Regions from separate parts of the Homo sapiens genome. Here regions 2 and 3 are each linked to region 1. The links are contacts of gene promoters, found by promoter capture Hi-C in blood cells and fetal thymus (Javierre and others, 2016). All regions are on one chromosome and are shown on one strand. The core of a region is centred on a gene start or on the middle of the fragment in contact, and the rest is flanking DNA. Distances in the headings are between cores, read along the strand shown.

Region 1 (3,510 bases), core at 9-2,508:
GACACATGAGCCAGGCCCACTCCTTCCAGCTCACACTCCACTGTCCTCTGTGGGTCTGCCTCTCCCTCCACTTTCAATGCCTCAGCAAGGGGCAACTGCGTTACCTCCAAAACAAAGCCCCCTGTTTTGCGCTCTCTGTCTTGCATGTGTCGCCCTCTGGCACCTTTTAATTGGCTTCCTTGTGTCCATCCTTGCCCCATTCCCTGCCAACCCAAGTTTACAAACATCAACGCTGCTTCTGTCTCACCTACACACTCAAATCCTAACTACCTTACAAAGGTTTCACATTACATATGAAATAAGATCCCAAATCATTTCCCTACTCTACAAAACCCTAAGTCCTCACCTCCCCGGGAACCCTCAACCTGATTTGGAGTTATCCCCTCTTTCCCCACCAGCAGTCTTTCTGCTCTGCATAAGTGCCTTGCTTGTTTTCACCACCGTGGTCTTCGCCCTTCTGGTTCCCTCCGCCTGGAAAGCAGAGCTCCCACACTCATGCGCTAAGCAAACACTCTTTCAATACCTTCGCTGGCCAGGCAGTTACAGCGCTGGAAGCACAGTAATGAAACCAGATAGTTTTATGTAAAGTTCCTTTCTTTAGGAAGCTTATGTTCCAGCGAGGAAACAAAGGGGAAAATGCTTAAGCAAAATAGGCATTTGAGATTGTAGGTGCACAAAACAAAGGGTTTATTGTAGGGCGAGAAGTACCGCGTGGATAATAAGGTCGTCTGGGAAGGAGTGACGTCGGAGTAGAGCTGAAAGGAGAGGGAGCGAGTGGGGGAGTGCCTAGCACGTTGAAGAGCCGCAAAGAGGAAGGAGGGCGCAGGGACAGAGGCCGATGAGAAAGGCAGGACCACCGCGCAGCACACTAAGGACTTGCGTTTACTCCGAGTGAGATGCGGTGCTGAGCATCGGCTGTGTAGACTGAGGCGCGCCGGCCGTTGCCCCTCAAGTCCCCGAGCCAGCGCTCAGCCCGGCTGCCCCGCAGCTCCCACGGCCACACGATTCCCCATCCCGCGCGCCCACTCGCCTCGTGCGGGCCGTAGACCACAGCCAGTGCCTTGGTGTTGCCCTGCTCAATGTAGGCCGAGCCGTCAGCCTGCGCGAACACGCCCATCCGCGCCTGGATCTTGCGCAGCTCCCCGGCGCGCCGCCCGTCCACCCGGTAGCCCTGGTCCGACAAGAGCTCCAGCCCCGCCATGCTGCCCGGCCGCCAGGTCCGCTCTCTGCCTACTTCTCTGAGCCGCGGGAGAACTACAGCTCCCGGCGGCTCCGACCGCCCGGAATCTACGGTTTCCGGAGGTCCGCCATCACTTCCGGTTCCGGGGAACTACAGCTCTCCGCGGCCCTGACCTCCGTGGATCTGCGGTTTCCGGCGTTCCGCTGTCACTTCCTGTCCTGGTGAACTGGAGTTCACCGCGGCCCCGACCTCCCCGGATCTACGGTTTCCGGCGGTCCGGCTCTACTTCTGTCTCCGGGGAACTGCGGCGGCGCTATCGGGGAAGCAGCGGCTGGGCCCGCAGCCGTTCCCGGAGCTGTGCCACGGGTGCCAGGAGGTGGGCGCCCGCCGAAGGAGGAATTGCCCAGTCACGCCCTCGTGACCAGTGGTGCCTGCATTCAGCCCTTCCCCGCGCCCCAAGTGTGAAAGTGGAAGGATGAACCCAGTGGGGTGCGACACTGACAGGAGAAGGCATTGAGCGGTCCTAGGAAAGTGACCAGGCTGGTGTCCCAGGATGGTCCACACCTGGCACCTCTCCAGTCCTCTCATGCCCTCCCTTTACACCGAGCTTCCACACTGCAGTCAGGTGGGCCTCCCTTTTCCCTTTGAGGATGCAGATTTCCTCATCCTTTCCAGAGAGGGGTTGTATGTCTGTTTATCTCTTGCCACTTAACCTCAGCGGCTTCAAATAATAAAAATCATTCTATTATTATGTGCTGCAATCTGGGGTTATCTAGGCTCAGCTAGATAGTTTGCACTTAGGATCTCTCCTACAGTTGCTGCCAGATGGTAGCTGGGGCTGCAGCCATCCTAAAGCTTTCTCCCTCACATCTTTGGTGGCTGATGCTGGTGGCGGGCCAGGACCTCATCTGTGCCTGTCAGGCAGCACACCTACATGTGGCTTCTCCATGCAACCAGGGCTTCCTTGCAGTATGGCAACTGGGTTCCAAGGGTAGCCTTCCAGGACAACAAGGTGGACAACATGTGCATGGTATTTTTAGGACCTAACCTCAGAAGTCACATAGTGTCCCTCCTGCCACACTCTGTGGGTCAAGGCAGTCAGACAGATCTGCCCAGGCTTAAGGGATGAGGACAGGGACCCCACCCTTCAGTGGGAGGAGTGTCAATATTAGACTGTAGGAAGAGCAGGCGGGCTAGGGAAATGTGGTCTGCTGCAGGGGCCCAAGTTCAGTTGTCACAGCATCCCCTCCAAGGTGGTTAAGCTCTCCTGAAAGACTGAGGCATGAGAGTGAGTGAGCAAGCCACAACCCTGCTGCTGCAGCTGGTCTGAGGCCATGATGGGTCACCACCCTCTGCCACTTGCCACCCCGGATTCCCCACCCTCTGCTCTACAGCCACTCTGCTTATTGTGGAGCCCTTTTCCCCTTTCAGTCTGAGCTCTTACTGTCCCTGTTCTTACTGAGTCATCGTTTTTTTCGTTTGTTTCTTTGTTTTGTTTTGTTTTTTGAGATGGAGTCTTACTCTGCACCCAGGCTAGAGTGCCGTGGCACAATGTCAGCGCACTGCACCCTCCACCTCCAGGGTTCAAGTGATTCTTCTATCTCAGCCTCCCAAGTAGCTGGGAAGGTGGGATTACAGGCACCTGCCACTATGCCTGGCTAAGGTTTTTTTTTTTTTTTTGGAGATGGAGTCTCACTGTCACCCAGGCTGGAGTGCAGTGGCACAATCTCAGCTCACTGCAACCTCCACCTCCTGGGTTCAAACGATTCTCCTACCTCAGCCTCCCAGGTAGCTGGGATTACAGGCATGCACCACCATGCCCTGCTAACTTTTTTTTTGTAGTTTTAGTAGAGATGGGGTTTCACCATGTTGACCAGGCTGATCTTGAACTCCTGACCTCAGGTGATCCACCTGCCTCGGCCTCCCGCCACCACGCATGGCCATTACTGGGTTGTCCACTGACAGTCCTTGCCGCATGCGGGAAGACTAGACGCCCAGGGAGCTCTGTGGACTGCCCACCCCAGTTGTGTAGCATTGACCGTAGCAACTCAGGACAATGAGGACGATGTTGGTCTTCAGCCTAAGGTGTCCAAAGTGGGCCAGTGATAGCCGCTACTTCAAGATCAGTGGAACCTTTGCTGTGTTCCCTGGTGGAAGTATTCATCTTCAGGAACCAGGCCTCCAACCTGGCAGCATTACAGGTTTAGGATTATGGGGCCACTCCTACCTCACACCTTTGGTTCTCTGACCCTCGTACTCCAGCTTTAGGGTACACACATGGGTCGATTCAAATTTTGGAGGCCTAAAGCTTATACAAATTCAGGGGCCGT
Region 2 (3,886 bases), core at 909-3,408, 310 kb before region 1:
GCGTGTGCCTGTAATCCCCAGCTACTAAGGAGGCTGAGGCAGGAGAATCGCTTGAATCCAGGAGGTGGAGGTTGCAGTGAGCGGAGATCCCACCATTGCACTCCAGCCTGGGCAACAAGAGTGAAACTCTGTCTCAAAAAAAAAAAAAAGTATCAATGAGTGCTAAACTGCTGGGTGGAGGCCAGGCGCAGTGGCTCATGCCTATAATCCCAGCACTTTGGGAGGCTGAGACAGATGGATCACTTAAGGTCAGGAATTCAAGACCAGCTTGGCCAACATGGAGAAACCCCATCTCTACTAAAAATTAAAAAAAAATTAGCTGGGTGTGGTGGCAGGTGTCTGTAATCCCAGCTACTGGGGAGACTGGGGCTGGGAGAATTGCTTGAACCCAGGAGGCAGAGGCTGAAGTGAGCCAAGATGTTGCCACTGTACTCCAGCCTGAGTGACAGAGCAAGACTGTCTCAATAAATAAATAAAGAAACAAACAAACTGCTGGGTGGAGGAGCAGTGAGAACAGACACATCATCTCAACTGCCTCCATACGGCTAATTACAAGGGAATCAAATGGGGGAAACCGAAATCATGTGCCCCCGGCAGGACAGAAGCAGTGTCACTCCTGTGTGATTCCTGCCAAAACAGATGACGAATATGACCACAAGCAAACATCAGACAAACCCACACTGACAAAATAAGAAGCAGTGAAATATTTCTGTAAAAGATGAGATGGTAATTATTTTAGGCACTCTGGCCACGCATGAGCACATGGGCAACTGTGCACCAAGTGGTCACAGGCAATGCATGGGCATGGCTGTGTTCCAATAAAGCTTTATTTGCAAATCAGACAGCTGCCACACTAGGCCCCTGCACTTGGCCCAGGGACCACAGTTTGCTGACTCTTGTTATACAATACTTACAAGCCTGTAATCTTCAAAGGTGTCCAATCATGTGCAATGAAGAATTAACTTTACCCAAACAGAGGACTGACCTTTGTCCCTTCTTAAGTCCTTGGGATTTCCTGAGTGATAAGGAGTGCCTCTGTTTTCCATGGTGGCCCTGAGGGCTTATGCTAAGAAGGGACTCAGGGCGAAGACCCACCACTTTGGGGCCCACGGGGATGGGAGCGGGAGGACCGGGGCTGGAAACTGAATTCCTGGGATTTTCTGAGAAACTGGAGATTTTCAATCAATCCCGCCCAAGTATTAATACCCCAACAAAAACTCCAGGCATGGCCTGCGTGGTGGCTCATGCCTGTAATCCCAGCACTTTGGGAGTCCGAGGCGGGCAGATCACTTGAGGTCAGCAGTTCAAGACCAGCCTGGCCAACATGATGAAACCCTATTGCTACTGAAAATACAAAAATTAGCCGGGCGTGATGGTGGGCACCTGTAATTCCAGCTACTCAGAAGGCTAAGACAGGAGAATCGCTTGAACCCGGGAGATGGAGGTTGCAGTGAGCCGAGATCCCACCATTGCACTCCAGCCTGGGCAGCAAGAGCGAAACTCCATCTCAAAAAATAAAAAAAAATAAGTTAAATAAAAAATTAAAAAATTTTAAAAAAAAAGTTAAATTTAGTTCAGGTATGATAGCTCACACCTGTAATCCCAGCCATTTGGGAGGCTGAGGCAAACGGATCACCTGAACTCAGGAGTTCAAGACCAGCCTGGGCATCATGGCAAAACCCCATCTCTACTAAAAATATAAAAAATTAGCCGGGCATGGTGGCGCGCACACCTGTAGTCCCAGCTACTCGGGAGGCCGAAGCATGAGAATTGCTTGAACCTGGGATATGGAGGTTGCAGTGAGCTGAGACGAAGCCACTGCACTCCAGCCTGGGCAACAGAGTGAGACTGTCTCCAAAAAATAAAAGAAAAAGGGGCGGTGGGGGAAAGCAAAACACATAGGTGATTTTTTTTTTTTTTGAGACAGAGAGTCGCTCTGTCACCCAGGCTAGAGTGCAGTGGCGTGATCTTGGCTCACTGCAAGCTCCGCCTCCCGGGTTCACGCCATTCTCCTGCCTCAGCCTCCCAAGTAGCTGGGACTACAGGCAACCGCCACCAAGCCCGGCTAATTTTTTGTATTTTTTAGTAGAGACGGGGTTTCACCATGTTAGCCAGGATGGTCTCGATCTCCTGACCTCGTGATCCACCCACCTCGGCCTCCCAAAGTTCTGGGATTACAGGCGTGAGCCACCATGCCCGGCCACATATAGGTGATTTTATTTTTTATTTTTATTTTTTGAGACGGGTCTGGCTCTGTCTTCCAGGCTGGAGTGCAATGGCGTGATCTTGGTTCACTGCAACCTCCGCCTCCCAGGTTCAAGTGATTCCCCTGCCTCAGCCTCTCAAAGTAGCTGGGATTACAGGCGTGAGCCACCGCGCCTGGTGGTGATTTAAGTTTAGGGCCAGGTGTGGTGGCTCACACCTGTAATCCCAGCACTTTGAGAGGCCGAGCTGAGCAGTTCACCTGAGGTCAAGAGTTGGAGACCAGCCTGTCCAACATGACGAAACCCTGTCTCTACTAAAAATACAAAAACTAGCCGGGCGTGGTGCCACACACCCGAAATCCCAGCTGCTTGGGAGGCGAGACAGGAGAGTCGCTTAAACCAAGGGAGCACAGGTTGCAGTGAGCTGAGATCGCACCACTGCACTCCACCCTGGGTGACAGAGCAAGACTCCGTCTCAAAAAAAAAAAAAAAAGAAAATGTAAGGAGTGGCAGAGATTAAAGACAGGGCTCTGAGGCAGAGAAACATTGTCCCAAACCTTCCACCTTCCTGGGCAGCCCCTGATCATTTGGGTACCTGTGGCCTGTTCTGACCTCTGCTGCCTTTTCTCATGGTGCACTGGCACCGCCATGCTCCTCACCCGCGCTCCTTCCTGGGCCCCTGCATGGGTGCTGCTGTCACCCAGGATGTGTTCCCAGGCTACCCTGTGCCCTGCCAGGGAAGCTCCACAGGCCTGCTTGTCTATGCAACCGTGACGGCTTAGAGCCAAGGAGAACGTGCAGACTGCTGGGAAAATTAACAACAGAGGTCCCTCCCTGCAACCCCAGCTCAGCCCCTGAGAGCGAGCTGTGAGAAGATGTTTTCCCACAAAGTGAGCCCAAAACGCAGGCTCACCAAGCCGGTGGCCGAGGAGGTGGACACCAGACACAGCTGCATGCCATGAAATAGAGGGTGAGACAAACCCAGGCCTGCCAAGCCGACATTTCAGAACCAGGCTGCAGGGGACGGTGGCTGGCAGCCCTGTGTGGCCCTTGCATGCACTGCAGCGGAGGGTCACGAGAAAAAGGCAGAGGACCCGAGGCTCTGTCGTCACCCACCCCAGGCTGCGAGACTGGATGGCCCTGCAAGACAGACAATGCCACCCAAAATCTGCAGGCAGGGACAGCAGGAACTCCAAGCAAAACCAGATGCCAGGGAGACCCACGTGGGGAACGACTGTTTTGTCTTTTAGGCTGAAAATCCTCAGGTGCCCAGCTATCCACAAGCTTCCACTCACTGCTGGAGGAAATTTCTGTGAAACTTCTGGTGAAATCTCTGAAGGCACCAGAAGCCGAGGCACTTGCTGAGAAACTGACCTAGGCCTGGCAGATGCTCGGAGGCAGGCAGAACAGGACCACACCCTCCCTGCCTCCTTCCTGCCCTGACGCTCCATTCAAAAGGGCTTTGGGGGCTGGGCACGGTGACTCACGCCTGTCATCCCAGCACTTTGGGAGGCCGAGGCGGGTGGATCACGAGGTCAGGAGATCGAGACCATCCTGGCTAACACAGTGAAACCCCGTTTCTACTAAAAATACTAAATAAATAAATAAATAAATAAATAATTTAGCCAGGCATGGTGGTGGGCACCTGTAGTCCCGGCTACTCAGGAGGCTGAGGCAGGAGA
Region 3 (3,883 bases), core at 911-3,410, 370 kb before region 1:
CTGCTCAGCTTCGAGAAGATTGGCTACACAGGTGAGGCGCCCCGCCGCCTGCTGCATGCCACACAGGTGTGGGTTGGGGGGCTGGCAGCCAGGAGTCTGGGGGCAGCAGGCTCTGGGCACTGGGCACTGACAGCGCCGGACAGCCGGGCTCTGGACAAGCTCCCGGTGGACAGGTGGACACCTCGGTCGAGAAGACAGGCCGGAGACTGAGTGGAAGGAGGGGCCGAGGCAGACCCCAGGTGCACACCTGTGTGGCTCTCACAGCAGCCCCGCCCACCTGTCCTCGCCACCCTGGCTTCACCATCCCTGCAAGGTGGCATCTCACTGTGGGGCTCCAGAGCCTCAAGACAGTCAGGGTCTAACCAGAAAGTGGGCAGGTCTCAGGGGGCCTGGGAGCTAGGGGCCTGCCCCTCGGACCCTGGGGCAAGAAGAGCACCCTGCCGAGTGAGGTCCTACCTGCAGGCAGTCACTGCCCCGGCCATGGGCCTCTCAAGGCTGGCACGAAGCCATTCAGGGAGAGGGCTCCACAACAAGCTGAGGGTGCCCGACTCAAACTGTAGAACCGGGAGTGGACACCCACAGACGCCCAGGCTGGATGCGTGCGCAGGCACACTGGATCTCGTGGCTCTCTGGGCCGCTGCCACCGCCTTTGAACGTGTCGGGGAGCAGGAGCCAGGCCAGAGCCTGGCCCAGAGGACAGCGAGAAGCACCTGTTGATGCTGGGGCCACTGGAGGAAGCTCCATCCCTCTACTCTCAGCCCACACCAGGCGGCCAGCTCAGAGCACCAGGCGTGGCGCAAGCAGGGTGGTCGTGGGCAGCCAGTCCCGCCCTGCTGCCTGGACTGTGCCCAGCGGGATGTGGGCCCGAGCAGGCCAGAGAGGCCGAGGGCCTGGGGTCTCTGCGGCAGCCACAGCCCGTGGTGAGTAGCAGCCTTAGCTGTCCTGGAGATACCGGGGCCTCGTGGAGTCTAGGCAGGCTGGGGCACTGTGGCTGTGGCCGTGGCCAGGTGAGAAGCCCCATTCGCGCAGGAAAGACTGGCCACCTGGGAACCCACGCCTCCACGGAGGGACTTGCCGGCCACAGGCTGTGGGCTGCCCAAGAGGACTGTGCAGGCAGGGCTGCCTGCTGATTGGCAGCTCCGGATCAGGCCCGGTGCCTGCAGACCTGGTGCTCCCCTCGGGCAGGGCTGGGTGCCGCAGCCGCCTGCTGGCTTTTCTGGCAGCTCCTCTGTATCAGAACCAATAAAGTGCACTTGTTCTCGGAACCGCATCCTGTCTGTGTGTCTGCTTACCCCGCCCTGGGGGACACCCGGGGCTCGGGGCGGTGAGGGAGGCCAGCGTGGGTCGGGCACGCCTGGGGTGTGGCCTGACACGTGCAGCCTCTGGACTCTCCAGCTAATCCATGTTGATTCTGTTTGTGGTTGTTCCCCTCAAAGCTTGTGTGCACCTCCATTTGCCATAGTTGCGTTTGGCTTGCTTGTGACAAGCAGAGCCCGGTGTCCGGGTAAGTTGCCTTCCTCCCCGGCTGAGCCTGCCCTCGGCCTGGTCAGGGAAGGCGTTGCTGCCCAGCCCTGCCCACACTAACAGCCGGCTCTTTCCGGCCCTGTCTGTCTCCACAGAGGTCCAGTTCCGGCCGTACCGCACAGACGACTTCATCACGCGCCTGTACTATGAGACGCCCAGGTTCACAGTGCTGAACCAGACGTGGGTCCTGAAGGCTCGAGTCAACGACTCGGAGCGTAACCCCAACCTGTCCTGCAAGCGTACGCTCTCCTTCCAGCTCCTCCTCAAGAGCAAGGTCACGGCACCGCTGGAGTGCTCCTTCCTGCTGCTCAAGGGCCCCTACGACGACGTGAGGATCAGCCCCGTCATCTACCACTTTGTCTTCACCAACGAGAGCAACGAGACGGACTACGTGCCACTGCCCATCATTGACTCCGTGGAGTGCAACAAGCTGCTGGCTGCCAAGAACATCAACCTGCGGCTCTTCCTGTTCCAGATACAGAAGTAGGGCGGGGCCTCAGGATGTCCGAGGAGCCCACGGGCGGCATCCCAGCACCGCTGCCCTGTCCACCTGGCTGGCAGCTGCTTCACAGGACTATCTGATCACTTTAGCAAAGGAGGAGAACAAACGAAGCCAACACAGGGCAAGTCTGCATGCGTGCGCGACGGGGCCCCCGCCTCCGGCTCACCCCCCCGACCCCTGCCTCCCCTCCTTCCGAGGGCCGCCAGAGGCTGGGCTGACCCGAAGAGGAGACGGTGCACCAGGCGCCCCGAGGCTCAGAGACGGTGGCAGCAAGGAGGCCGAGAGGCACAGCGACCCTGCCCCAGCCCTTCTGTGCAGTCAGGCGGCGGTGCTGCTCCATCCCTGCGGGTTCCGGCGGGGCGCGGGGGCCTTGCTGACATCAGACGGGATATCCGAATATCTGATAGCAATTAAAAGGCAGCCTTGTTTCGTACTTTCTGTTTTGTTCGAGGGGAAGGCATGGCTGTGAATGGACAGCGTGGGGGCTTTGGTTTGGCCTGGGGGTCAGAGCCTGCCCCGCCCCCATCTGTGTGCCCGCACACGTCCCCCGAGGAAAGACTCAGAGACACTGCCTCCCCCTACACTCTGTCATGGGGTCTTGAGACTGAGGCTTGGGCAGGAAGATCCAGGTAGGGTCGGGGCTGCCCTGGCCAACCGGCCGCTCCCAGGGAGACAGGACTCAGCCACCAGGGCTCAGCAGGCATTTTCCGAAAGCAGGGTGAAATTGTCTCTTCCCAGGAAAAAGATTAAACTCCTTGCAGGCTCTTGGATAAGTTACACAATTTTAGTGAGAAAGAGTCTATTTACTGTAGATTCAGCCTTGAGGGCCCAGCGTCCCCAGGCTGTGTGGAAAGCTTGGGTCAGTGCTTGGGCGCCTGGCTGGGTGAGAGTCTGAGGTGTGTCCCCCATGCTGCTCTCGGGGTCCTGCTGCTGGCCCTGCATTCAGGGCTCGCTGCAGAGGTCAGAGGTTGGGCAGCCCAGCTTCTCACCTGGAGGAGGTGGGCCCTTCCCATCCTCACCCTGGCCGCCCCCTGATGTGCCCCGTGGTGGCTGAGCAGGGCTGGCCTAACAGGATGGGAAGGAACCCTGCCTGGAGGGGTAATCCCTGGTCCTTTCTTCCCCTGGGACTCCCAGGGCTACTGGGAAGGATACAGCTTGACGCCCCCACCTTTGCTTAGGAGATGTGGCTCTTCCGTGATAGCTTTTTGTTGCTTCAATACCAAAGAACTGGTTTCCTCTGCTCCAGTCAGGTGCATTAACTTGCCTCACAGCAGCCCAACCCGCCCCCACTGGCTGCTGGGGCCTGGCCCACATTGTCCTGTGCTTTGCTGGTCACGGGTCGAGGGCTGAGAAATGGAGAGGAACTGGGGGCAGAATGTAAGCGCCATCATCCGGGCGGCTGACCATGGCACAGCCCAGCATGACCCTCCCAGTCAGCTCTTCCCTCCCGGGCCGCCGCACTGCCCCTCACGGGCTGAAACTTTCTGGAGCTGTTTCTGAGAATGCTGTGGGTTTCTACTCCCAGGCCAGGGCGTGTGGCCTGCTGGGAGTGCCTCGCTGCCGGAGCCTTATCTCCTGCAGAGCTGATGTGGCCTGGCCACCAAGGGCATGGGAAGGCCCCATGTTTGGTTTTCTGCTGACCACAAAGAAAGACCCCACCCAGCCCCCAGCACATCCTTGGGAGCAGCTGCCTCTGACTCTGGCACCACCAGGGTGAACTTGGGCACCTCAGGGCTGCGCTTTGGGGCTGTCCTCCCTCATGCTCCACCCACAGGCGCAGAGGGTTGGGCTATGGCTCTACATCTCTTTGGAAGCCCGACGCCCTCTAGCGTAGTGTTTCTGGGTCCAAGGTGATGG

The links. Contacts are between HindIII fragments. The CHiCAGO score rates a contact against its expected background, and 5 or more counts as called.
Region 2: a contact is called between a fragment that was not itself captured here and the fragment with the promoter of EXOSC4 in region 1, in 2 of 17 cell types (erythroblasts and endothelial precursors). The highest score is 7.4, in erythroblasts.
Region 3: a fragment that was not itself captured here is called in contact with the fragment with the promoter of EXOSC4 in region 1 in 1 of 17 cell types (erythroblasts); the score reaches 7.7 in erythroblasts.

The regions. Positions count from the first base shown.
Region 1 is chr8:144,076,420-144,079,929 of GRCh38, reverse strand. It overlaps EXOSC4 (exosome component 4), which reads right to left and starts at 1,258. Exons shown (of 3, transcript NM_019037.3): 1 at 1,031-1,258. The coding sequence starts at 1,201. It overlaps MIR6847 (microRNA 6847), which reads right to left and starts at 56; the gene lies at 1-56. It overlaps LOC124902038 (a long non-coding RNA gene), which reads left to right. Exons shown (of 2, transcript XR_007061141.1): 2 at 1-1,931. RefSeq lists enhancers at 1,187-1,486, 1,497-1,546. The HindIII fragment of the contact is 1,430 bases long and covers 608-2,037 here.
Region 2 is chr8:144,383,998-144,387,883 of GRCh38, reverse strand. All of the region lies in intron 3 of ADCK5 (aarF domain containing kinase 5), which reads right to left. Among named protein-coding and RNA genes, the nearest start is that of MIR939, 8.3 kb to the left of the region's middle. The HindIII fragment of the contact is 2,664 bases long and covers 827-3,490 here.
Region 3 is chr8:144,448,507-144,452,389 of GRCh38, reverse strand. It overlaps TMEM276-ZFTRAF1 (TMEM276-ZFTRAF1 readthrough), which reads left to right. Exons shown (of 5, transcript NM_001408018.1): 4 at 1-31; 5 at 1,620-2,808. The coding sequence ends at 2,011. ZFTRAF1 (zinc finger TRAF-type containing 1) reads left to right here. Exons shown (of 4, transcript NM_001330618.2): 3 at 1-31; 4 at 1,620-2,808. The coding sequence ends at 2,011. Among named protein-coding and RNA genes, the nearest start is that of TONSL, 6.0 kb to the right of the region's middle. The HindIII fragment of the contact is 1,444 bases long and covers 1,439-2,882 here.